Regions from separate parts of the Homo sapiens genome. Here regions 2, 3, 4, 5, 6 and 7 are each linked to region 1. Evidence: promoter capture Hi-C in 16 types of primary human blood cells and fetal thymus (Javierre and others, 2016). All regions are on one chromosome and are shown on one strand. The core of a region is centred on a gene start or on the middle of the fragment in contact, and the rest is flanking DNA. Distances in the headings are between cores, read along the strand shown. Region 1 holds the start of ZNF433 (zinc finger protein 433). Region 2 overlaps ZNF44 (zinc finger protein 44). Region 3 has its middle 3.0 kb from the start of ZNF440. Region 4 has its middle 45 kb from the start of ZNF44. Region 5 has its middle 10 kb from the start of ZNF439. Region 6 overlaps ZNF439 (zinc finger protein 439). Region 7 has its middle 9.2 kb from the start of ZNF69.

Region 1 (3,340 bases), core at 610-3,109:
TCCAAAAAAAAACAAAAACAAAAACAAATAGTTGATACTACAAATTGAAGAAGGAGAGTTGGTGTCTGCAAATTTTAGAAAGGAACTGAAATTTTAGTATTGTACTGCAAGCTCTCCAGAGGTAGGCCAGGGTCACAGGGTGGAGGGTTTGAGATCTCACTTCCCATATATTTGGAAAATGCAGAGAAGTACCAGTTAACTGGGGAGTGTTGAAAATTTTGAATAAGAAGTAATTAAACTTAATGCCTATAGTACTCTAAGATCTTGGCCAAGAACATGGAAATCAAATTCAAATGCTATTCATATAAAGTACTAACTTATGTGACGGTATGTGGCCTGAGAAAACAATAACAAGTTACTAATTTATTGGGAAATGAAATATGGGCTTAACCAGGTACAATTGGTCGAGTAACCTCTGATTATACAACCAAAAATTTTCCACTGTATGGTCTGTGAAAATAAGTAATTCAAAAATTGAAGCTGTTGGAACTCTAAATTATCTTGAAGTTTAAAGTAATGTGACTCTGGAATTGAGTCACCTGACACTGGAAAGAGCCAGCTGGAACCCTCCCACACTTGACTACAGATTAACCATCAGACAGGCTTCACTATACCTGGACAGGCCTCATTATACCCGCTTCCTTTAGGAGTTTCCACATAGCCACTGACCCACCTTCATGTTAAAACAGACATCAGCCAACTGGAAACACAGACTCTCTGTGACAATAAGAAACCAAATTACAAACAAGACCTAAGGCCATGCAAGGCAAGAGGTAAGTCAAATCTTAGAATTCACAAAATCTAAAGAAACAGGTCTTTTGTTTTGGGTGGGATGAAATCATATGACAGATACCAGACCCTCTTCACTTAAGCAATCCTTCCTACCGCCTCGAAGTTTTAGACAAAGCTTCACACTCTCCACCAACGGCCACCTTCAGAATCCCTCAACCACCTGCACCTTCTAACCCCCCTTCCACAGGTCCCGCCCTTTCTGCCAAAGGAACTTACACCTTTCCAGGCATTGATGCATGATTCTCCCTGCAATTCCTGTCTCCCTGAAATGAATAAAAACAGTCTTGAGCCGCCTCGGGACCACTTACTTCAGGCCTCCTGGGGTTGTGTTTTCCTCAGCTGAGGCCTCTCCTATTCGGCTCTGAATAAACTTCTTTAAGTTATTTTACACAGCTTGGCATTTTCCGTTAACAAATTACAAGCCAGGACTGGGTGTTTATCATTCAGGAATCTCAAAGGAACTCTAATTATTAATATATTTTTTAAAACCTATTCTGAGAAGCAAAACTATAATTGTTAACGTGTCTCAGTTTAATTTTTAAGAGGAGAAAGGCGCTACTGGGGACCCCACAGCCCACCCTCCTCCTACACAAACCCCCACACCCGAGGCGGGATCCCCCCATGACCCTCGCGTAGTCCCCGCACAATGTGGGGAGACGCGGGGCAGCGGGCGCGGAGCTGCCCAGAGAGGGCTCTGGGAACTGGGTGACAGTCACCGCGCAGGGACAGGACGAGACGCCCGGGTCCCGGCGGCCGGCCCAGCCCCACTGTGGGGCCAAGGGGACCAAGGGCCGAGCTGTCCCACGGGAAATCGGGTCCCAGACCCCGGAGTCGCCGCGGGGAGGCCCGGGTCCCACCACAGCCGGTTCCGGCCGGTTCCAACCAGCTCCTCCCCCGCCTCGGGACCCCTGGCCCGCACGCTCACCATTTCTTGCCTTTCAGGTGACTCCCACGACCAGTGCGGGTCACAGCACAGGCGACAGAAGCTATGGCAGAGGCACCTGAACCCTCTCGGAGGGGAAAGCCAGGCTCCCAACCTCAGCTCGCCGCCTGGAGCCGGGAACCGAGGAGAGCAGGGCCTTCGCCCTCCCCGATGGACACTCGGCAGGCCCCGCCCAGCGCCCCTGATTGGACGAAGCGCCGGGCCCCGCCCCCTCAGCCGTGAGTGACAATAGAAGCCCTTGGTAACGGGGCTCTGAAAACGGGTTTGACCGGATCCAGCGATAGATTCTTTAAGCCAGAGGTCTGTAACCTTTTTAGCACCAGAACCGGTTTCGTGGAAGACAGTTCTCCTACGGGGGCAGATAGTTTCGGAATGAAACTTCCACCTCAGATCAGGCATTTTATCCTCATAAGGCGAACCCAACCTAGATCCCTCGCATGTGCAGCTCACAATAGGGTTCGGGCTCCTATGACAGACTAATGCCTCTGCTGATCTGACAGGAAGCATATCTCTGGCGATAATGCCCGCTGGCTCGCCCGCCAGCCGCTCACCTCCTGCTGTGCGGACTGGTTCCTTACAGGCCATGGACCGGGGGTTGGGGACCCCTGCCATAGAGTACTGTTGAATAGAAACTTTAGCTCGTCCGGCGGTGGGCTGGGGGGGTGGGGGTAGCTCATGCCTGTAACCCCACCACTTTGGGAAGCCAAGGCAGGCAGATTGCTTGAGCCTAGGAACTTAAGCCCAGCCTGGGTAACATAGCAAAACCCCGCCTCTACAAAAAATACAAAAATTAGTCGGGCGTGGTGGTACATGTTTGCAGTCCCAGCTACTCGGAAGGCTGAAATGAGAGGATCGCCTGAGCCCAGAGAGGTCGAGGCCACAGTGAGCTGTGATTTTACCAGCCTGGATGTCAGAGTGAGACCCTGTCTCCGAAAAAAAAAAAAAAAAAAAAGACAGGGAATTGCAGTGGAGTTTAATATACATAGAGCCGGCTAAATGAAAGAGAAGAGTTTTATTTTTATTCAATTCTGTCTCCCTAAAAAATGGGAGGCTAGGTTTTGTTTTTTTGGTTTTTTTTTGAGACGGAATCTCTCTGTCGCCCATGCTGGAGTGCAGTGGCGCAATCTCGGCTCAGTGCAACCTCCGCCTCCCGGGTTCAAGCGATTCTCCTGCCTCAACCTCCTGAGTAGCTGGGATTACAGGCATGCGCCACCATGCCCGGCTAATTTTTGTATTTTTAGTAGAGACGGGGTTTACCATGTTGGTCAGGCTGGTCTCAAACTCCTGACCTCATGATCCACCCGCCTCGGCCTCCCAAAGTGCTGGGATTACAGGCCTGAGCCCCCGCACCCGGCCGAGGCTAGGGTTTTAAAGATAATTTGGTGAGCAGAAGGCTGGAAAATGGGGAATGCTGATTGGTCGCGAAAAGGATATCACAGGAAGTCTCAGCTGTCTTCTTGCACTGAGTCAGTTCTTGGCTAGGGGCCACTGGAGCAGGTGAGCCAGTTTATTGGTCTGTGTGATGCCAGCAAATTTATCAGAATGAAGGGTCTCAAAAATACCTCAAACACCAATCTTAGGTCTTACAACAATAATATTATCCAC
Region 2 (3,340 bases), core at 295-2,794, 240 kb after region 1:
AAGGTCTTGATGTCCTGTCAAGATTCAAGTTAGCCTGAGGTCTCACTGTTTATCTATGATGCCACACATCTAGTCACCTCTACACATCACATTAGGCACCATACAGCAATCATCATTGTCATAACCATCGTAATACTTGGGTTATCAAGAGAGAAGAACCAGAATTGTGGTTGGTGTTAACACATTCTTTCAGGTCATTAGACAAAAGTAATCTGAGTATTGAAACAAGAAACTGTAACATTATAGGTGATATATACGATGTAGATAGGCCTGCAATGGTTGGGTCTGTACTGAACACATATAGATTTTTTTTCTTATGATTCCCTAAACAATACAACTATGTACACAGCTTTTACAATGCATGAGATATTTTAATTAATCTAGACATTTATAGAGTATACAGGAGAATGTGGGTAGGTACATGCGAATATTCCATTTTATAAAAGAGCTGGCATCTGTGGATTTAGGTATACTCAGGGTGTACTGGAACCAATCTTCTTGCATATAGCAGGCAGCAACTCTATTTGAAAGAAATGGAAACTTTTTTTTTTTTTTTTGAGATGGAGTCTCGCTCTAGCACCCAAGCTGGAGTGCAGTAGTGCAATCTCGGCTCACTGCAACCTCCACCTCCCGGGTTCAAGGGATTCTCCTGCCTCAGCCTCCTGAGTAGCTAGGACTACAGGTGTGAGCAACTATGCCTGGCTATTTTTTTTTTTTTCCGTATTTTTAGTAGAGACAGGGTTTCCCATGTTAGCCAGGCTGGTCTCGATCTCCTGGCCTCGTGATCTGCCCTCCTCGGCCTCTCAAAGTGCTGGGATTACAGGTGTGAGCCGCTGCGCCCAGCCTGGAAACTTCTTAAGGCTTTACCACGTTTACATTCACAGGATTTATTTCTTTCAAGTATCTGAATGTGATAAAACCAATGAATGCTTTCCCACATTCCATACACTTATAGAATATCCTTCCAGTGTGTCCTTTTATGTCTATTAAAGGAACTGAGAGAACTGAAGGCTTTCCCACATTCCTTACATTCATAGGGCTTCTCTCCAGTGTGAGTTCTTTCATGTTCTCGACAGAAACTGGAACGACTGAAGGCTTTACCACAGTGTTTACATTCATAGGGTCTTTCTCCAGTGTGAGTCCTTTCATGTCTTAGAAGGAAAGAGGGCCAAAAGAATGCTTTCCTGCATTGCTTACATTCATATGGCTTCTCTGCCGTGTGAGTCCTTTCATGAGTTTTTAAGTAACTGAAACGACTGAAGGCTTTGCCACAAATTTGACACTCATAAGATTTTTCTTCACTGTGAGTCCTTTCATGGCGACAAAAGTATTTAAAAGAACTAAATGCTTTCCCACACTCCTTACATTCATAAGGCTCCTCTTCACTGTGTGTTGTTTCATGACTTTGAAAGGAAAATAAATCACTAAAAGCTTTTCCACATTTACATTTATAGGGTTGCTCTCCAGTGTGTGTTGTTTCATGTTTTCGAAGGGAACTGGAAGTACGGAAGGCTTTCCCACATTGCTTGCATTCATAGGGTTTCTCTCCAGTGTGAGTCCTTTCATGTCTTTGAAATACACTAGGAGAATCAAAGGCTTTCCCACATACTGTGCATTTATGAGGGCCATCTCCAGTGTGTGCCATCATGTGTCTTCGAAAGCTTGAGCGATGAGATAACAATTTCCCACATTGCTTACATTCATAGGGTTTCTCTAGAGTGTGAGTTCCTTCATGAATTCGTGCTGAACCAGGAAAATCAAAGCCTTTCCCACATATCTTACATTTATGAGGTCCATCTCCACTGTGCATTATCATGTGTCTTTGAAAGCTTCCAAGATGACAAAACGCTTTCCCACACTGTTTACATGTATAGGGTTTCTCTCCAGTGTGAATTCTTTCATGTACTCGAAGGGAACCGGAAACACTGAAGGCTTTCCCACATTGTTTACATTTGTAGGGTTTCTCTCCAGTGTGAGTTCTTTCATGTCTTAGATATGAACTGTAATCAGGGAAGGCTTTAGAACACTGCTTACATTCATACGGTTTCTCCCCAGTGTGTATTTTTTCATGTCTTAGATAGGAACTGTAAACAGGGAAGGCTTTAGAACACTGCTTACATTCATATGGTTTCTCTCCAGTGTGAGTTCTTTCATGCATACGTAATAAACTGGGCCAAAAAAAGGCTTTCCCACACAATTCACATTTATAAGGTCCATCTCCACCTTTTACTACCATATGTCTTCGAAGGTTTCCAGGAGAACTGAAGGTTTTTCCACATTCCTTACAATCATAGGGTTTCTTTCCAGTGTGAGGCCTTTCACATGTTTGAAAGGAGTGGCGATAACTTAAGCCTTTCCCACACTGCTTATGTGTATATGACTTCTCTGCATATTCATGACACTCCCGGTGTTTGTGTCCAGTATCAACTCTGATGTAGCAATTCAGGGATGAATGACCCATTATGACTTCTCCATTCACACTGCTTCCACATGCATCTACTCTGGCGGGAGTGTTCTTGTTTACAATACTATTTCGAATCTGGCTTAAGGTTTCTCCACACTGACTACCATCTTTACTTTTACCAAATCTCTCTACCACATCACACCTGTAAAAAATGAAAAGTACATTACTAAAGGTTTATTATTGAATTTATATTTATCAACAGGTATTAGATTTACATTTTTAACATTATCAGGCAAGCTATAAGCTTCATGTCCTGCTTCAATGTGAATGGACTGAATGTTGTGCAAGATAACTCAATCCCAGCTATTTTCAAGACAATGATATGCACATGGGGATTCTTAATTCTTTTTTTTTTTTTTTTTTTTTTTTGAGATGGAGTCTCCCTCTGTCATCAGGCTGGAGTGCAGCTGGTGCTGTCTCGGCTTGCTGCAACCTCCGCCTCCCAGGTTCAAGTGATTCTCCTGCCTCAGCCTCCCAAGTAGCTGGGACTACAGGCATGCACCACCACACCCAGCTAATTTTTGTGTATTTTTAGTAGAGATGGGGTTTCACCATGTTGGCCAGGTTGGTCTCGATCTCCTGACCTCGTGGATCCACCCACCTCGGCCTCCCAAAGTGCTGGGATTACAGGCATAAGCCACTGCGCCTGGCCTTTTTTTTTTTTTTAAGACAGGGTCTTGCTCTGTCACTTAGGTTAGAGTGCACCAGTGCCATCACAGATCACTGCAGCCTCAAACTCCCAGGCTCAAGTGATCCTCCTGTCTCAGCCTCCCAAAGTGCTGGGATTGCGGGCATGAGCTACCACACCCAGCCTCATATGGGAAATCTTAATATTGTTTCCATGGGAACTACTTTGCAAACACTGAATAGCTATGT
Region 3 (3,340 bases), core at 225-2,724, 220 kb before region 1:
TAATACTTTTAAAGAAATTCCTTACTGAGTCAAGTGTGGTCAATATATTTATGTAACTGTCTGAATGCACGCCTAGGAAGGATGAAAGTCAGTATCACTATTCCAACCAAGCCTTTCTTGCTCAGATAATATGCTCTTGATGCACCCCTCTTTTTTCTTTTTGACACAGGGTCTCATTCTATCACCCAGGCTATGTGGAGTGCAGTGGCGTGATCTCGGCTCACTGCAATCTCCACCTCCTGGGCTCAAGCGATCCTCCCACCTTAGCCTCCCAAGTAGCTGGGACCATGCCCAGCTAATTTTTGTATTTTTTTTTTTAGAGACAAGGTTTCACCATGTTGCCCAGGCTGATCTCGAACAGGAGTTCAGCAACCCTTTTATGCCACACTGTAGAGTAATAGGCAACATGGAAAAGTTAGTTTTATATATTATGCAGTGGCATGGACCAATCCAATCACTTTTTTGAAGTGCCAGCCAAACTCTTCTTCAGAGAAGCCTGTTTGAAACCCCCTAGAGTCAAAACCTGGTACCACAGGACAGAGCAGCAATGAGTGACCAACCCCTGACTCTATGTGCAGATGACACATCCATCCCCAGATTAGGTATCAACATAAGTGAAAGGTACTGTCATTGCCTGTCATTTTTTTTTTTTTTGAGATGGAGTCTCACTTTGTCACCCAGGCTGGAGTGCAGTGGCACGATCTTGGCTCACTGCAACCTCTGCCTCCTGGGTTCAAGCTATTGTCCTGCCTCAGCCTCCCAAGTAGCTGGGATTACAGGTGCCCGCCACCACACCCGGCTAATTTTTGTATTTTTAGTAGAGACGGCGTTTCACCATGTTGGCCAGGCTAGTCTTGAACTCCTGACCTTGTGATCCACCTGCCTCGGCCTCCCAAAGTGCTGGGATTACAGGCGTGAGCTACTGCACCCAGCCCATTGCCTATCAGTTTTTATAGAGTGTCGCTTAGATCAAGAAAGAGATGGTAATACAGAGTTAGGTGTGTCTGAAACCAAACACGACCTCATCCTTCTCCCTTGAAGGCCAAATGCACTCTGAGAGTTTGGTTAGAGTACAAACAACGCCACCAACTTCACTCCAGATGTGATTTTCTACAGGAGGCGGGCACTGTGTTGGGATGGCCAGTGAAGGTAAGGAACACTAGAGGTGCAGGTTTAGGTGATGAACAGGACACAGCCTGGACATTATTAGCCTTGACTATGGAGGTGTCTTGATGTTTCTCAAATTGAGACCAGTCTGGCCAACAGGATACTGAACTGGTTTTCGATGGAAAAATTCATCTGTATAGGGATCTATTCGCTTCCTTTAAGTTTCAGTTTCGTTATGTGGCATTTAGCATGAGTGACTCCATTTTGGTCTGATCTGGTTTCTAAGTGCCTAGTGCAGAAGCTCAGTCCAAAACAATGGCCTCCCATAATGTTCATTTTAACATTTTCTTTATACTAATACATTATATCAGGTCACCTCAAATGTCACCTCCACAGAGGGTTCTTCCTCTCACCTCAGTTAGTCCTACTTCTTTCCATTCAGTTTTTTGTTACACTGCACTTTTTAGGATCTGGGAAATCTAATCAAAGTTCACAGGGTTTATTGCTTATTCTTTTTCTTTTTCTTTTTCTTTTTTTGAGACAGAGTCTCTCTTTGTCGCTGCCCAGGCTGGAGTGCAATGGTGTGATCTCGGCTCATTGCAACCTCCACCTTCCAGGTTCAAGCGATTCTCCTGCTTCAGCCTCCTTAGTAGCTGGGATTACAGGCATGCACCACCACACTCAGCTAATTTTTGTATTTTTAGTAGAGATGGGGTTTCACCATGTTGGCTAGGCTGGTCTCGAACTCCCAACCTCAGGTGATCCACTCACCTCAGCCTCCCAAAGTGCTGGGATTACAGGCATGACCACTATGCCCAGCCAGGTTCATTACTTTTTAAAAATCAATCTATGAAAAATTAAATTGGCCAGGCATGGTGCCTCAGAACCTGTAATCCCAGCACTTTAGGAAGCTAAAGTGGGAGGGTCACTTGAGGCCAGGAGTTGGAGAGCAGTCTGGGCAACACAGTGAAACCCCATCTGTACAAAAAATACAAAAATTCGCTGGGCTTGGTGGCGCACACCTGTGGTCCCAGGCTCTACTTGGGAGGCTGAGGTGGGAGAATTGCTTGAGTCCGGAAGATCAAGGCTGCAGTGAGCTCTGTTTGCACCACTGTACTCCAGCCTGGGTGACAGAGGGAGACCTTGTAAAAAAAAAAAAAGAAAGAAAGAAAGAAAGAAAGAAAGAAAGAGAGAGAGAGAGAGGGAGAGAGAGAAAGAAAGAAAGAAAGAAAGAAAGAAAGAAAGAAAGAAAGAAAGAAAGAAAGAAAGAAAGAAAGAAAGAAGAAAAGAAAAGAAAAATCATGTAAATGAAACCAAATTCAGTGATGTTACCTTAACTTTTTTTCTTTTTTCGGGTAGAGACAGGGTCCCACTATGTTGCCCAGGCTGGTCTCAAACTCCTGGCCTCAAGCGATCCTCCTACCTTGGCCTTCCAAAATGCTGGTATTACTGGTGTGAGCCACCACACCTGTCCTACCTTTATTTCTAATAACTGATATGCCTTACATTAAAAAGTCTTTTAGAAAACACCTTTGAGCCATTTTCCAGATAGGGGAAGTCAATGAAGCTCCCTCTTGTGGTGAGGGCGACTTTAACATCCACACATCCTGTCTGGGGGACTGGATTTCTGAGTTGTGCTGAGACTTAAGAGTGGAAAAAAAGTCTACTCTTTTTCCTCTGCTCTCACACAACACGGAATACTTCTGTGACCAAATGCAAATATTTGAGAAGTGTCCCCCACATGCCAAGCAAAGCATCAATTCTGCAACTGACTCCAGCTCGATGTCTTCTAGTTCCAACACTTTCTACCTTTACATAAGGTACAAAACTGCCTCAGAAATCATCTGACCATGTGTCCCGGTTTGCCAGTGATAATCCTTGATAGTACCTGTTGTCCCAACATAGTTTTTCATAGCACCTCATCTTGCCATGGTTATCTGTGTCTGAACAATGAATATGTATGAATACTTTCACACATAAGCAAAATTAGGTTTATTAAATGAAGTTTCCAGGAATGTTCAAATTTCAACACCTGATTTACCTTATCACAAGTTATGGCTGTGCTAATTTCTCCAGGAAATATTCACAGAATATTGAATTTATCATTGTAAGGTGTGGAGCAATGAAGATGCCCAAGAGGCCAGGCGCACACCTGTAATCCCAACACTTTGGGAGGCTGAGGCTGGAGGATCACTTAAGCTCAGGAGTTTGAGATCAACCTGAACAACCGAAT
Region 4 (3,340 bases), core at 240-2,739, 210 kb after region 1:
CCTTACATTTGTAGGGTTTCTCTCCAGTATGAGCCTTTTCATGTTTTTGAGCAGATTGGTGGTATCGGAATGCTTTTCCACATTCTTTACACTTAAAGGGTTTATCTCCAGTGTGAGTCCTTCCATGTATTTGGAAAGAACGTTGACAACTGAAGGCTTTCCCACAGGCCTTACATTTGTAGACTATCCCTGCACTGTGTGTTCTTTTATGTTTTTTAAAAGACTGCAGATAACTGAAGGGTTTCCCACATTTCTTACATTTATATGGCTTCTCTCCATATTCCTGACACTTATACAGTTTGTGTCTGGTGTAAGATCTAATGTGCCTGTTAAGGGATGAATGATGGCTCAAGACTTTTCCACATACACTGCTTTCCCAAAGCTTTCCTCCAGAAGGAGTTTTCTTGTTCAGACTGAGATTTGCAATCTGGCTGAAACCTTCTCCGCCATGACTACCTTCTTTACTTTCACAGAGTCTCTCTACCATATGATTTCTGTAAAAAATGAGTAGCACATTAATAGTTCATTTTTTAAAGATTTTCTCTTTATTAACTGATACTAGAATAACTATTTTTTCCACTTTCAGGGAAAGTACAGATTTTTTTGTCCTGTCTAAATTGCTTGTGAGGTGAATGTACTGAATGCTATGGCCCTGCAAGAGGGCTCAAACATAACTGTTATGAAAACAGTGATTTTCATATATGGGTTTCTCTTTTTTTTTTTTTTTGAGACGGAGTCTCACTCTGTCACCCAGGCTACACTCTGTCGCCCAGGCTGGAGTGCAGTGGTGCGATCTTGGCTCACTGCAACCTCTGCCACCCGGGTTCAACTGATTCTCCTGCCTCAGCCTCCTGAGTAGCAGGGATTACAGGCACCTGCCATTGCGCCCGGCTACTTTTTCACTATGTTGCCGAGGCTGGTCTTGAACTCCTGACCTCACAATCCACCCACCTCGGCTTCCCAAAGTGCTGGGATTATAGGCGGGAGCCACCGCGCCTGGACCATGAACATCTATGCCATATTTAAGAAAGCACTTTGGGGCCAGGCGTGGTGGCTCACACCTGTAATCCCAGCACTTTGGGAGGCCGAGGCGGGCGGATCACAAGGTCAGGAGATCGAGACCATCCTGGCTAAACACAGTGAAACCCCGTCTCTACTAAAAATACAAAAAATTAGCCGGGCGTGGTGGTGGGCGCCTGTAGTCCCAGCTACTCGGGAGGCTGAGGCAGGAGAATGGTGTGAACCCAAGAGGCAGAGCTTGCAGTGAGCCGAGATCACGCCACTGCACTCCAGCTTGGGCGACAGAGCAAGACTCCGTCTCAGAAAAAAAAAAAAAAAAAAGAAAAGAAAGCACTTTGGGTTATTTTTATTTATTTATTTTTCCCGAGATGGAGCTTCACTCTTGTTGCCCAGGCTACAGTGCAATGGCACAATCTCGGCTTACTGCAGCCTCCGCCTCCCGGGTTAAAGCGATTCTCCTGCCTCAGCCTCCGAAGTAGCTGGGATTACAGGCATGTGCCACCATGCCCGGCTAATTTTGTATTTTTAGTAGAGATGGGGTTTCTCCATGTTGGTCAGGCTGGTCTTGAACTCCCGACCTCAGGTGATCCGGCTGCCTCAGCTTCCCAAAGTGCTGGGATTACAGGCATGAGCCACTGCGCTAGCTGGGTTAATATTTTCTAAGAACAGATACATTTGAGGCTCAGCTTGTTTTGTTTCTTTAATTATCAAATTTAATGACATACTAAGATTTTTCTCCTAGAATACTGCTTTCTTTTCTGAGTGTGACTCACCTGAGATTTCTCCCCTGGTTTTTGTACTGCTCTTCAATGTTCCATTCTTTTTGTTTTGTTCCTGAAATGCAGACCCAGAAAAAATTATCATAAATTATTAGAAATTACAGAAAAATTATTAGATTCTAGGTCCATATGTGACCATGCCTGATTTACAAAAGAATTTTGCCTTTTCACATTCCACATCTTGGAATAGCATTGATATCCAAGAAAAAGGTATTCTCTAATTCATTCAACAACATGATGGAATGATTTCATTTTTACCTATAGTGGCCAGGTTCCTGAAGGTTTCCCACATCACGTCTCTGTAGAGTTTTTTCTGTGAAGGATCCAGCAAAGTCCATTCCTCCTGGGTGAAGTTCACAGCCACATCTTCAAAGGTCACTGAGTCCTAAAACATTCCAAATGTGTGTAAAGGAGAATGGGTGAGACTGACAGCACTGGACATCTATACTCGAGTCATAAGATGTTCACGATGATTCTGTGATCTCCAGAGATTTATTCTATGAATTTGTTGTCAGAACTCTAACTCTTTGGCCACACTCCCTCAGTAGTTTATGAACACACGAAAATTATTTCTACACTTTCACTGTGATCACAATCATATTGCTTTCCAATGGCAGGATCCAGAGCACTCTGGAAAAGTGAGAGAAATGCTGTACAAAAAAATTCCATTTTAAGACCATCAATTCTTTGTGAGAAAAACTCATCTTCTTCTTATACATCACATCACTCAACATTCCATGAGACACAGGGTCAAACATGGATAATACGTGGATGAATAAAAGCACACTGAAGAACTAGAAGCTTTTTCTACTATTCCCATCACTAAGCATGAGAACAAGAGGCACGTGGAAATCAAACTTGTAACAATATTTACCTGACCATATTGTCCTGAGGTACTCTAGGATATTCGAGGTAGTCAGATCCAGCCAATTCAATCAAAATATTTCTTTTGGAGAAGTTGGCTGGGCACAATGGCTCACACGTGTAATCCTAGCACTTTGGGAGGCCGAGGCGGGCAGATTATCTGAGCTCAAGAGTTCGAGACCAGCCTGGGCAACATGGTGAAACCCTGTCTTGGTGGCTCACACCTGTAATCCCAGCACTTTGGGAGACCGAGGAGGGTGGATCACCTGAGGTCGGGGGTTCCAGACCAGCCTGGCTAAAATGGTGAAACCCCATCTCTACTAAAAATACAAAATTAGCTGGGTGTGGTGGTGCATGCCTATAATTCCAGCTACTTAGGAGGCTGAGGCAGGAGAATCACTTGAATCTGGGAGGTGGAGGGTACAGTGAGCCAAGATCGCACATTGCACTCCAGCCTGGGCAACGGAGCGAGACTCTGTCTCAAAAAAAAAAAAAAATTAGCTGGGTGTAGTGGTGCGCATCTCTAATCCCAGCTACTCAGGGGGCTGAGGCACGAGAATAGCTTGAGCCTGGGAGGCAGAGGTTGCAGTGAGCTGAGATAGCACCACTTCTCTCCACCCCAGAGAAGTGTTCATTTTCACTATTTGTGTTAATATTTATCAGAGACTTATTTCTTT
Region 5 (3,340 bases), core at 262-2,761, 200 kb before region 1:
AGACCCACAATCAAAAAGGTGGGGAAACATTAGAGTGGAAGGAGGGCAGCAGAAGGTCAAGGACTTTCCCGGAGGCCTAACATACCCAACATTATTACCCTAGATGAAAACCAAATACATATCCTAACACCACATACTCTCTTCAATGTTTAACAGACAAAATGAAATGTATTCAAAGCTAAGCTTCCAGAATTCCACTTTACGCTATTAATGATGTTTTAATATCCCTCAATGTGTTGATATTAGGACATTTTTAAATATGAATACCATTTTCTGGTTATATATGGAAAATATCTTGATTTCTGAGATACAAAAATGCTCATTTTTAGATATACATGGTCTTGCACTTTTTTTATAAAATAAGGTGAAAAGACAGGAAAAATTTTTTCAGATCATGGAACTTGGATTAATAGGAGAAGAGTCATACAAATTTATTTAACATGTATATATGGGAGCCTTCAGAATGAAGACCCACCCAACAATAAGACAAAAAAGCTTATATTACCATTCTGAGGCCAAGAAAGAATGCAGACTTGGCTGGCCAAAAAATCCCGGGTTTGGTGGGTAAGTCAGGTTTAATGGCAAGACAGATTAGGGAAGAGGAAAGGAAGAAGCTTACCTCCTGTGTAGCTAAGGAGACCTTGTTATGTAGATGAAGGCTCCCTCATAGAGAATAGGTGGGAAATGCTGCTTTTCAGACTTTTATTTAGACTTTTAAGTAATAGGGACAGGATTATGCTATGTTGCCCAGGCTGTTATCTAATTCTTTTTCTCAAGCAATCCTCCCAGCTCAGTCTCCGAAAGTGCTAGGATTACAAGCATGAGCCGCCATACCCAGACAGGGTTTGTTCCCTTGTAAAGAATTATTTGTTGCTGGACACAGTGGCTCACAGAGGCCAAGGAAGGAGGATCACTTGAGCCCAGGAGCTCAAGACCTGCCATGGCAACATGACAAAACCTCTTCTCTACAAAAAATACAAAAAATTAGCTGGATATGGTGGCACGTACCTGTACTCCCAGCTATCCAGGAGGCTGAGGCAGAAGGATAACCTGAGCCTGGGAGATTGATGCTGCAGTGAACTGTGATTGCAGCACTGCACTCCGGCCTGGGCCACAGAGTGAGAGCCCTTCTAAAAAAAAAAAAAATATATATATATATATATATATATTTGTTCACTTATTGCAGCTTCAGATTTTTAAAATTAATTGTAAATTGCATTTTCACTACAGCTGGAAAAATAAGAAAATTTTGCACAGAGCCAAGATAAAAATAGATGTCAGAAATAAATCATTAGTCTTATATAGCATTTGTTTCAAAAAAAAAATTTTTTTTTTTTGAGACAAAGTCTCGCTCTCTCACCCAGGCTGGAATGCATTGGTGTGATCTCGGGGCATTGCAACCTCTGCCTCCTGGGTTCAAGTGATTCTCCTGCCTCAGCCTCCTGAGTAGCTGGGATCACAGGCACGTGCCACCACACCTGGCTAATTTTTGTATTTTTAGTAGAGATGGGGTTTCACGATATTGGCCAAGCTGGTCTCGAACTCCTGGCCTTGTTATCCACAAGCCTTGGCCTCCCAAAGTGCTGGGATTACAGGCGTGAGCCACCGCACCCAGTCTCAAAATTCTTAATTTTTTTCTTCTTCAGATGTGGTGTAGTACATTTCTTAAGTCTGTCCTTTTTTGTGGATGATTTCTTTATTTCTTTTTCTTTCTTTCTTTCCTTTTTTTTTTTTTAAGATAGGGTCTGGCTTTGTTGCCCAGACTGGGATGAGGTAGCACAATCTCAGCTCACTGCAATCTCCATCTTCCAGGCACAAGCTATCCTCCCACCTCAGCCTCCGTAGTAGCTGAGACCACAGGCACACACCACTACACCCAAAGTGCTGGTATTACAAGTTTGAGCCACAGTGCATGGCCATTTTTGGATGATTTGTAACAGAGTTTCAGGGCATAGCGTTGAGAATGCTGATTGGGAAAAGAAATAGAGAAAATCTTTTATTACAGCTTGAGAAAATGAATAATCTTCCACAATAAAGTATAGTAGATAAATTGGTGAATTACAAAGATTCAGCAAAATACCAGTCCTCCTTTGCAGGTTGGGGAACTTGTAATGGTGGATAACTCTTCTTCTTCCTGTTATCTGTGGGGTAAGACCTGGCTGGCAACTGTTGTCATATGTTTGTGTTCACATATGATTAATGTGTAGTATGTGCTTTGTTATCATGGAAATAATAATGAAATAATATTGTGCACCTTAATAAGATAATAAGATTCAGAGAATATGATTAAATGCTGAGTTTATCTGAGCACATAGTTTGAGGATAGCCACTGGGGAAACAGATATCCTGAAGAGTGGGGTCAGTGCTCCAACACGGGGAATTTGAGTCTTCTCTTCTATAGGGCAAAATGAAGCTTAACAGGGTGACATTTTCCATACAAGGCCGGTGCACACATTTCAGTGATTTGATAGGTTGCAGCTACCAAATTTCAAGGATGATTGCTTTAACTTTTTTTTTTGGATGGAGTCTTGTTCGGTCGCCCAGGCTGGAGTGCAATGGCGCAATCTCAGCTCACTGCAACCTCCACCTCCCGGGTTCAAGCAATTCTCCTGCCTCAGACTCCTGAGTAGCTGGGATTACAGGCACGTGCCACCATGCCCGGCTAATTTTAGTATTTTTAGTAAAGACGGAGTTCACCATGTTGGTCAGGCTGGTCTCAAACTCCTGACCTCATGATCCGCCTGCCTCGGCCTCCCAAAGTGCTGGGATTACAGGTGTGAGCCACTGCAGCCGGCCTGCTTTAACTTTTTGTAAGGAGGGGTAGTGGTCTCAAAAGGATCCTACCTCTGGCACTTCTCTGTCTTTTCTAATCATTTACAGCCTAAGAACAAGGAAGAGAATCTTTTTGACATGCACAGGGAAGGAGCAATTACATAGTAGTGTAAACACATTTCTCAATATGTTTATTGACTGAAAGGGTTAGATACTTTTATTTTCCCTGATGAGGATGAAAGGTAAGTGCCTTATAAATTCCTGCCTGCCTGTAAACATAAACTGAGTTTGAGAGATTTTGCTGGATTCTTCAAACAGTGGGTATTTTCTCATTGAAACAGAGGCCTGAGTCCAGGGACTGCAAGCTAAGGCCAATGACAAGCCTACAAAGAGAGGTCATTGAAAGCTCACACCAGGCGCATTGGCTCACACTTATAATCCCAGCACTTTGGGAGGCCAAGGTGGGCAAATCATGTGAGGTCGGGAGTTCGAGACCAATCTGGTCAACATGACGAAATCCCATCTCTACTAAAAATACAAAAATTAGCCGGGTGTATTGGCTCACGCC
Region 6 (3,340 bases), core at 303-2,802, 180 kb before region 1:
GGCTGAATCACAGACAATGTTAATGGGAGTTGAAGCTGTGAGCTCTAAAACTAGAATGACTGTAATTAACTCTGAGCGTTGAGCTGAAAGTCCAGAGATCCTTATTGTCTGAGTATGTTTAGGTCCCAACATAGCTGCACGCCCTTTGGAAGAGCCATCGGTAAAATAGGCCTGACCACCTGGAATAGGCTCGTGATGAGTAATCACAGGGAAGATAAAATAATAGACATTATAAAATTGTAAAACTTTGTCCGATGGAGAGTGGTTGTCTATTATTTCCACAAAATCTGCAAGAGCAATTTGCTACACAGTCGATATTTCCCATGCTGTGGCCTGTTGTTGGGAATCCAAGGAAACAATAATTGCGTCTGGATCATACCCCATAAGCACTTTTAATTTATGCCTACCTATAGTCACAAGTTGTGTAATTAAAGGAAGATAGGCTTGCAAGGTTTTAACTGTTTGATTAGGTAGAAAGAGCCATTCTATTACTGATACAGACTTGTCTAAGCACTGGCCCAGGAGTCCTGTTGGAGAATGAGGGGTATGAAGAATAAGCAAAGGCTTTTGCGGCTACAGCCATGAGGCATGTCTCTGCTGAAGCATCTGTTCTACAAGTTGCAACTCAGCTTCTGCCTCTTTGGTCAATTGCTGCGGGGAAATCTAATGAAGAATCTCCTTGCAGGGTTTGATAAAGATGTTTGAGTCGATAAGTTGCAATACCTAGCATTGCGCACAGCCAATGAATATCCCCTAACAACTGTTGAAAATCATTTAAAATCTGTAACCTGTCTTTATGGAGAACTACTTTCTGAGGCCGAACACTTCTTTCAGTAACAATAGTGCCTAAGTAATGGTATGGGGAAGTTGCTTGTACTTTCTCTGGACCAATTTTGAGATTCCATTTAGTCAAAGCCTGCTTCCTTTCTCTGAATAACTGATGTAAGATTTGATCTGTAGGAGTGGCCAAAAGAATGTCATCCATGAAATGAATGATGTGAGCAGTAGGAAACATATTCAGAGTCTCCTTCAATGTTTGTCCTACAAAATGCTGACAGCGTAGGACTGTAAAGCATGTCTTGGGGTAAAACTTTCCTTTGATAAAGAGAAACAGGTTCTCTTGGATGAATAGAAGGCACAGAGAAGGCAGATCCAGGCTTATCCTTCTCGTGTAAGGGTATAGTAAAGAAAGGTCTATGCCGGGCGCAATGGCTCACGCCTGTAATCCCAGCACTTTGGGAGGCCGAGGTGGGTGGATCATGAGGTCAGGAGATCAAGACCATCCTGCCTAACATGGTGAAACCCCGTCTTTACTAAAAATACAAAAAAAAAAAAAATTAGCCAGGCATGGTGGCAGGCACCTGTAGTCCCAGCTACTTGGGAGGCTGAAACAGGAGAATGGCGTGAACCCGGAAGGCGGAGCTTGCAGTGAGCCGAGATCGCACCACTGCACTCCAGCCTGGGCGACAGAGCGAGACTCCATCTCGGAAAAAAAAAAAAAAAAGGGGGTCTATTGCTACAAGAGGCCAGTCTCTAGGAATGACGGCTGCAGATGGCAAGCCTTGTTGTAATGCACCCATCAGTTTAATTTGTGCATTAATAGCTCTCAAATCATGCAGCAGTCGCCATCTTCCTGACTTCTTTGGAATTACAAACACTGGTGAATTCCAGTGGCTAACCGACTCCTCTTTATGGCCTGCATCCAGTTGCTCTTTTTCTACTGCTGAAGTTGAGTTAGTTTCTCCTGTGATAGGGGCCATTGATCCACCCACACAGGTTTGTCACTGAGCCATTCTAATGGTAAGGCAGTAGGTGAAGGAGAAGTATCAATGACCCCCATCAGAAATCCTGACTCCTAGCCCTTTTCTATCTGTTTGCCCACTTATTGATATAGGATCAGGGTTTCCCTGTAGGGACTTTTCTAAGCCTTTTCTGCTCTGATATCCCATTTTAGGGTTTGACCCTTGGCTCTTTTTAGATTTGTCAACTACTAAATTAGCCATTGCTTGACCTAACATTGTAGAATGATAAAGCTCAGTTCCTACATCCTGAGAAGCTCTGAGAAAATTTCCCAACTCTTCTGTATACTTCACAGGTGCTAGTGCACATTTACAATCTACGTTTGCATTCTCAAAAGCTAAAGTTACGGTTTGCATCTCTGCAGCCATGGTATGAGGAATCTGTTTCTTCACTGCCTCTTGTAATCTTTCAAGAAAATGTGCACAGGGCTCCTGCAACCCTTGCGTGATATGTAAAAAGGATTGTACTGGAACCCCTTCCTCTGGAATTGTGGCCCAGGCACATTTAGCAGCCAGTGCACACTGCTTATAAGCAGCGTCTGGGAGTGCCATTTGATGTTCCAGGTCTGAATAAGGGCCATTACCCAACAGCATATCCTCTGTAATGTCTCTATGTCCAGTAGCATGATTCTGTCTAGCCTGGTCTGCACACATTTCTTCCCAATTTAAATTCCGTGTTAGGTATGCGCTAGCAGACAAACAAATCTGAGCCAAATGCTTTACATCAAAGGGTATAAGGCGCATAGCACCAAAAAGAGATTCTGGTAATCCTAAAGTAAATGGGCTCTGTACTCCATTATTAACTACACTAGCTTTTAATTCCTTCAACAACTTAAACTCTAGTGGGGGTGTGTTCATGAATAAACTGCTGTGGATTATTTGAATCGGGCCTTATGGAAATAGGAAAAACGCAAGGTCCTAAGGGCTCTCCAGCTATGGCAGCAGAGCATAAAGTTGTTTGTTTTGGGGTCTCTATTTCTGCTACCGAAGGAGGCAGTACAGATGTTTCTGCTATTGGAGGGGGCGGTATAGGCCAATTTTTATCCTCCTTCTCCTGTTTATTATTTTCAGTTGGTACTGTGGGTGGGACAAAAGATTCTTTCAGATTTTTAGACTCAGAATATGATTCCAGCTGTCTAGCAGAATAAGAAGGAGATAACGGCAGAAGGACAGTATGGACTAAACTCCAAGTGGAGAAAACAGAAGGATCAACTTTTAGACCTTTTTGATGAGCCCATTTTAATCCTTCACCTGCTGTGTCCCAATTTTCCACATCGAAAGTGCCTGTCTGCAGAAACCATGGGTTATGCATAATAACCTCCTGCAGCATCTTAGTGTCTGAGAACTAACCTGAGCACCAGACTGTTTAAGTAAAACTTTAAGCAACTGCACATAATGTTGCTCCTCAATCCCAGCACTTTGGGAGGCCGAGGCGGGTGGATCATGAGGTCAGGAGATCAAGACCATCCTGCCTAACATGGTGAAACCCCGTCTTTACTAAAAATACAAAAAAAAATTGTCTCTTGCTCCTCAATAGACAA
Region 7 (3,340 bases), core at 388-2,887, 160 kb before region 1:
GAGATCACATACATTTATAAAGGAGGGCTCTCACAATGGGATTAGTAAGAGAGAGAGAGAACTCTGCCTCTCCAGCATGTAAGGACAAAGCAAGAAGGCATCTAGCTGCAAGCCAGGAAGATAGCCTTCACTAGGAACAAAATTGTTGGCAGCAAGATTTCAGACTTCCCAAGCTTCAGAACTGTGAAAAACAAATTTCTGCTGTTTAAGAAACTGAGTCCATGGTACTTTGTTATACTAGCCTGAGCTAAGTCACCCCAAGAGTCCTCACATTAACCATATACTGTCGTACAAGTGCTGCATTTGGATCTACCTGTAATGTCTCCAAATCTACTTTTCCTTTTGGACCCATTGTGAGAACAGGTTTGCCTCATAGACAACTGCTGGTGATATTAGTGATAGCCTACCAACTAGGGACTAAAAAGAAAGTTTTTCTTTTTTTTTTTTCTTGCTTTTTTTTTTGAGATGGAGTTTTTGCTCTGTTACCCAGGCTGGAGTGCAATTATGCAATCTCGGCTCACTGCCAGTTCTGACTCCCAGGTTCAAGTGATTCTCCTGCCTCAGCCTCCCAAGTAGCTGGGTTTACAGGTGCGTGCCACCACATCCAGATAATTTTTGTACTGTTAGTTAGAGATGGGGTTTCAACATGTTGGCCAGGTGGTTCTCGAACTCTTGACCTCAGGTGATCCACCTGCCTTGGCCTCCCAAAGCACTAGGATTACATGCATAAACCACCACACTCGGCCTCTCATTCATATGTGTGTGTATATTCTGTTTTTAATAAAAATAGAGACTAGGCCTATGTTGCCCCGTGTGGTCATAGCCCAAACTTTTGGGCTCAAGCGATTTACTCACCTCAGCCACCCAAAATGCTGGGATTAAGGCATGAGAAACTGTGCCAGGGCAAATGAAAGAAACTTAGTGGGAGGCCAGGCACGGTGGCTCACACCTGTAATCCCAGCACTTTGTGGGGCTGAGGCGGGTGGATCACCTGAGCTCAGGAGTTCAAGACCAGCCTGGACAACATGGTGAAACCACATCTCTACTAAAAATACAAAAAAATTAGCTGGGCATGGTACTCCCATTCTCACAGTCATGCAAAGGCTCTTTCTTAAGGATTCCACCTGCTGGAAAGCATTATATACTGCCTGCACTGACTCAAGAGTGTCTGGTTTCATCTCCATGTCATAATTACAACCACAATCCTAAAGGGACTGATTTACCACACTGTGGTTGCCGTAAGTCCCAAATTGTACCCTCAGCAGCAACTATATCATCCCAAGTCACAGCTCTACCCTCTAAAGGTGTGCCTGAGGCTTGTGCCTGCCATACTAACACATTAACCTGTCCAAAGCTTCCTTCAGAGCTGTGTCCCAGTCCCAAAGTGCCCCTTTCTAAAACATTGGGCTAAGTGTCAGATAAATGCTCTCCAATAATCCAAAGACCAACAAATGTCTGGATTTTTTTTCTTAAGAGAAATAGTATGGCTCTGTTTCCCAGGCTGGAGTGCAGTGGTGGGATCATAGCTCACTGTAGAAACTCGGGCTCAAGGGATCCTCCTGCCTCAGCCTCACAAGTAGCTGGGAGTAAAGGCACATGCCACTATGCCCGGCTGTTTTTAAATTTTTTGTACAGATGGAGTCTCACTCTATTGCCCAGGCTGTTCTTGAACTCCAAGGCTCAAGTGATCCTCCCACCTCAGCCTCCCAAAGTGCTGAGATTACAGTTATGAACCAATGCACCCAGAACTCAAAAAGGAATATTTATAAGGGAAAATATCTAATGTTCAAATTGTTATGTATAGAGCAGTTAACGGGAACTATCATTTAGGGTCTATGGGATTCTAGGACACTAGGTATGAAACAAATATGAGGAAGGTCAGAGAACAAGCTGACTTGATGATTAATGCTGAAGGTGCCGCAAGCTTGGTTTAAGTTTTCCTCCTCCCATCCTCCCTGATGAATTTGATAAAGTTTAAAGGGATGGTTTCACCGGGGGCTTTTTCCACTGACTGCAAGGAGGTGATCCCGCTTGGTAAATCTTCAGTAGGCCAAGCCTCTTACGTGGCTAGAATGATCCAGTCCATAAGGAAATGTCACCACCTGCTGTATTTTACACTTTGACCATCAAAGGGGTACAGGGTTTCCCCAGGGAGTTTGGTGGGATTTTAATTTTTTGTTTGTTTGTTTTGAGACAGTGTCTTGCTGAAGCGCAGTACCCAATTATAGCTCACAGCAGCCTCAAACTTTGGGGTTCAAGTGACTCTCCTGTCTCAGCCTCCTGAGTAGCTGAGACTGTAGGTACACACACTTCTCCTTGGTAATTAAAAATTTTTTATGGAGATGGGAGGGTCTCACTTCACGGCTCAGGGTGGTCTCCAATCTCGGGCTTCAAGCGATCCTCCCACTTTGGCCTCCCAAAATGTTGGGATTACAGGCGTGAGCCATGGCACCCGGCCTCCCAGGCTGTTGTTTGAAGGTCTTTGCAATCTCTAAGAGTTCTGCAGCAATTTATTCCCTGACAGTGAGAGTCTCATCCTTTGACCCCATTTTGCCGCAGTAGCTGAACGTTCACTTTTCTTTCCATAAGGGGGCGAGCTTGCCAGTGACCCTAATCCCTCTCCTCATCGATGACTTCTTTGTCATCAGAGCCTTCCTCTTCATAAATTCCCACGGAATCCAAGTTTTCACGTCCCAATCGGGCTTAGTTATGATAGCCACAGGCCCACACCAGCTGCCACAGCACCCCTGTCCCATGGAAACCGCCTGACTCTCTTCTCCCCAAGCGTCCTGTCCCAGGAGCCCCCATCATCTCTGCTCCCCCGGGCTCCAGGCCCTAGAGCCGCGCTGCTGCAGAGCCCGGTTCCCAGGGCTGCTCCCTCCATATATCCACATTCATCTCCAGCTCTCCACCCTCTCTCCAACCAGCCAGGCCCGGAGGTACTGCAGTGTCACTGAACGTGCGTCCCTCAGCTGCCACCTCCACCACGATCTGGAAATCTTTTAAATGCACTTAAGTTATCTTAGAATTTTCCTTCCCCACTTTATACATAAACATAGGAGGAGAGCAGGGACTCTGCTGGTGTCTTATTCACACAATGGGATTGAGGGTGTTTGTGTCATGGAACTGATCAATGGGGTGAGAAGTAGCTGAATAACCTGCAGGGGGCAGCAGAGCCCGAGGCCGGTGACTCAACGCTGAGGCCAGTGTGGAGCCTGCAAAGGAAGGGAAAGGAGCCTTTCCTGGGGGCTTCCGGGCAGCCCGCCCTCCCCTACAGGTGGCCTCCAATTGCTCAGAGCAGCTCCAGAAGGAGTGCGGATTCCGAGAAGCTGAAGAGCCC

The links. Contacts are between HindIII fragments. The CHiCAGO score rates a contact against its expected background, and 5 or more counts as called.
Region 2: a fragment that was not itself captured here is called in contact with the fragment with the promoter of ZNF433 in region 1 in 4 of 17 cell types (total CD8 T cells, erythroblasts, M1 macrophages and 1 more); the score reaches 5.9 in total CD8 T cells.
Region 3: a fragment that was not itself captured here is called in contact with the fragment with the promoter of ZNF433 in region 1 in 3 of 17 cell types (total CD4 T cells, megakaryocytes and naive CD8 T cells); the score reaches 6.8 in total CD4 T cells.
Region 4: a contact is called between a fragment that was not itself captured here and the fragment with the promoter of ZNF433 in region 1, in 3 of 17 cell types (fetal thymus, total CD8 T cells and erythroblasts). The highest score is 7.9, in fetal thymus.
Region 5: a contact is called between a fragment that was not itself captured here and the fragment with the promoter of ZNF433 in region 1, in 7 of 17 cell types (total CD4 T cells, erythroblasts, M2 macrophages and 4 more). The highest score is 6.6, in total CD4 T cells.
Region 6: a fragment that was not itself captured here is called in contact with the fragment with the promoter of ZNF433 in region 1 in 3 of 17 cell types (total CD4 T cells, erythroblasts and megakaryocytes); the score reaches 7.8 in total CD4 T cells.
Region 7: a fragment that was not itself captured here is called in contact with the fragment with the promoter of ZNF433 in region 1 in 1 of 17 cell types (erythroblasts); the score reaches 6.1 in erythroblasts.

The regions. Positions count from the first base shown.
Region 1 is chr19:12,033,820-12,037,159 of GRCh38, forward strand. ZNF433 (zinc finger protein 433) reads right to left here and starts at 1,860. Exons shown (of 4, transcript NM_001308348.2): 1 at 1,718-1,860. The coding sequence starts at 1,720. It overlaps ZNF433-AS1 (ZNF433 and ZNF878 antisense RNA 1), which reads left to right. Exons shown (of 3, transcript NR_134929.1): 2 at 1,735-1,953. RefSeq lists silencers at 1,395-1,514, 1,525-1,574, 1,815-1,974. The HindIII fragment of the contact is 7,472 bases long and covers 906-3,340 here.
Region 2 is chr19:12,271,458-12,274,797 of GRCh38, forward strand. ZNF44 (zinc finger protein 44) reads right to left here. Exons shown (of 4, transcript NM_016264.4): 4 at 351-2,606. The coding sequence ends at 950. Among named protein-coding and RNA genes, the nearest start is that of ZNF44, 22 kb to the right of the region's middle. The HindIII fragment of the contact is 230 bases long and covers 1,430-1,659 here.
Region 3 is chr19:11,809,633-11,812,972 of GRCh38, forward strand. No RefSeq gene overlaps it. Among named protein-coding and RNA genes, the nearest start is that of ZNF440, 3.0 kb to the right of the region's middle. RefSeq lists a silencer at 2,632-2,741. The HindIII fragment of the contact is 8,771 bases long and covers 1-3,340 here.
Region 4 is chr19:12,248,185-12,251,524 of GRCh38, forward strand. It overlaps a transcript of ZNF44 not described here. Among named protein-coding and RNA genes, the nearest start is that of ZNF44, 45 kb to the right of the region's middle. The HindIII fragment of the contact is 2,218 bases long and covers 381-2,598 here.
Region 5 is chr19:11,836,935-11,840,274 of GRCh38, forward strand. No RefSeq gene overlaps it. Among named protein-coding and RNA genes, the nearest start is that of ZNF439, 10 kb to the right of the region's middle. The HindIII fragment of the contact is 1,799 bases long and covers 613-2,411 here.
Region 6 is chr19:11,856,980-11,860,319 of GRCh38, forward strand. All of the region lies in intron 1 of ZNF439 (zinc finger protein 439), which reads left to right. Among named protein-coding and RNA genes, the nearest start is that of ZNF439, 9.9 kb to the left of the region's middle. The HindIII fragment of the contact is 3,965 bases long and covers 1-3,340 here.
Region 7 is chr19:11,876,889-11,880,228 of GRCh38, forward strand. No RefSeq gene overlaps it. Among named protein-coding and RNA genes, the nearest start is that of ZNF69, 9.2 kb to the right of the region's middle. The HindIII fragment of the contact is 570 bases long and covers 1,353-1,922 here.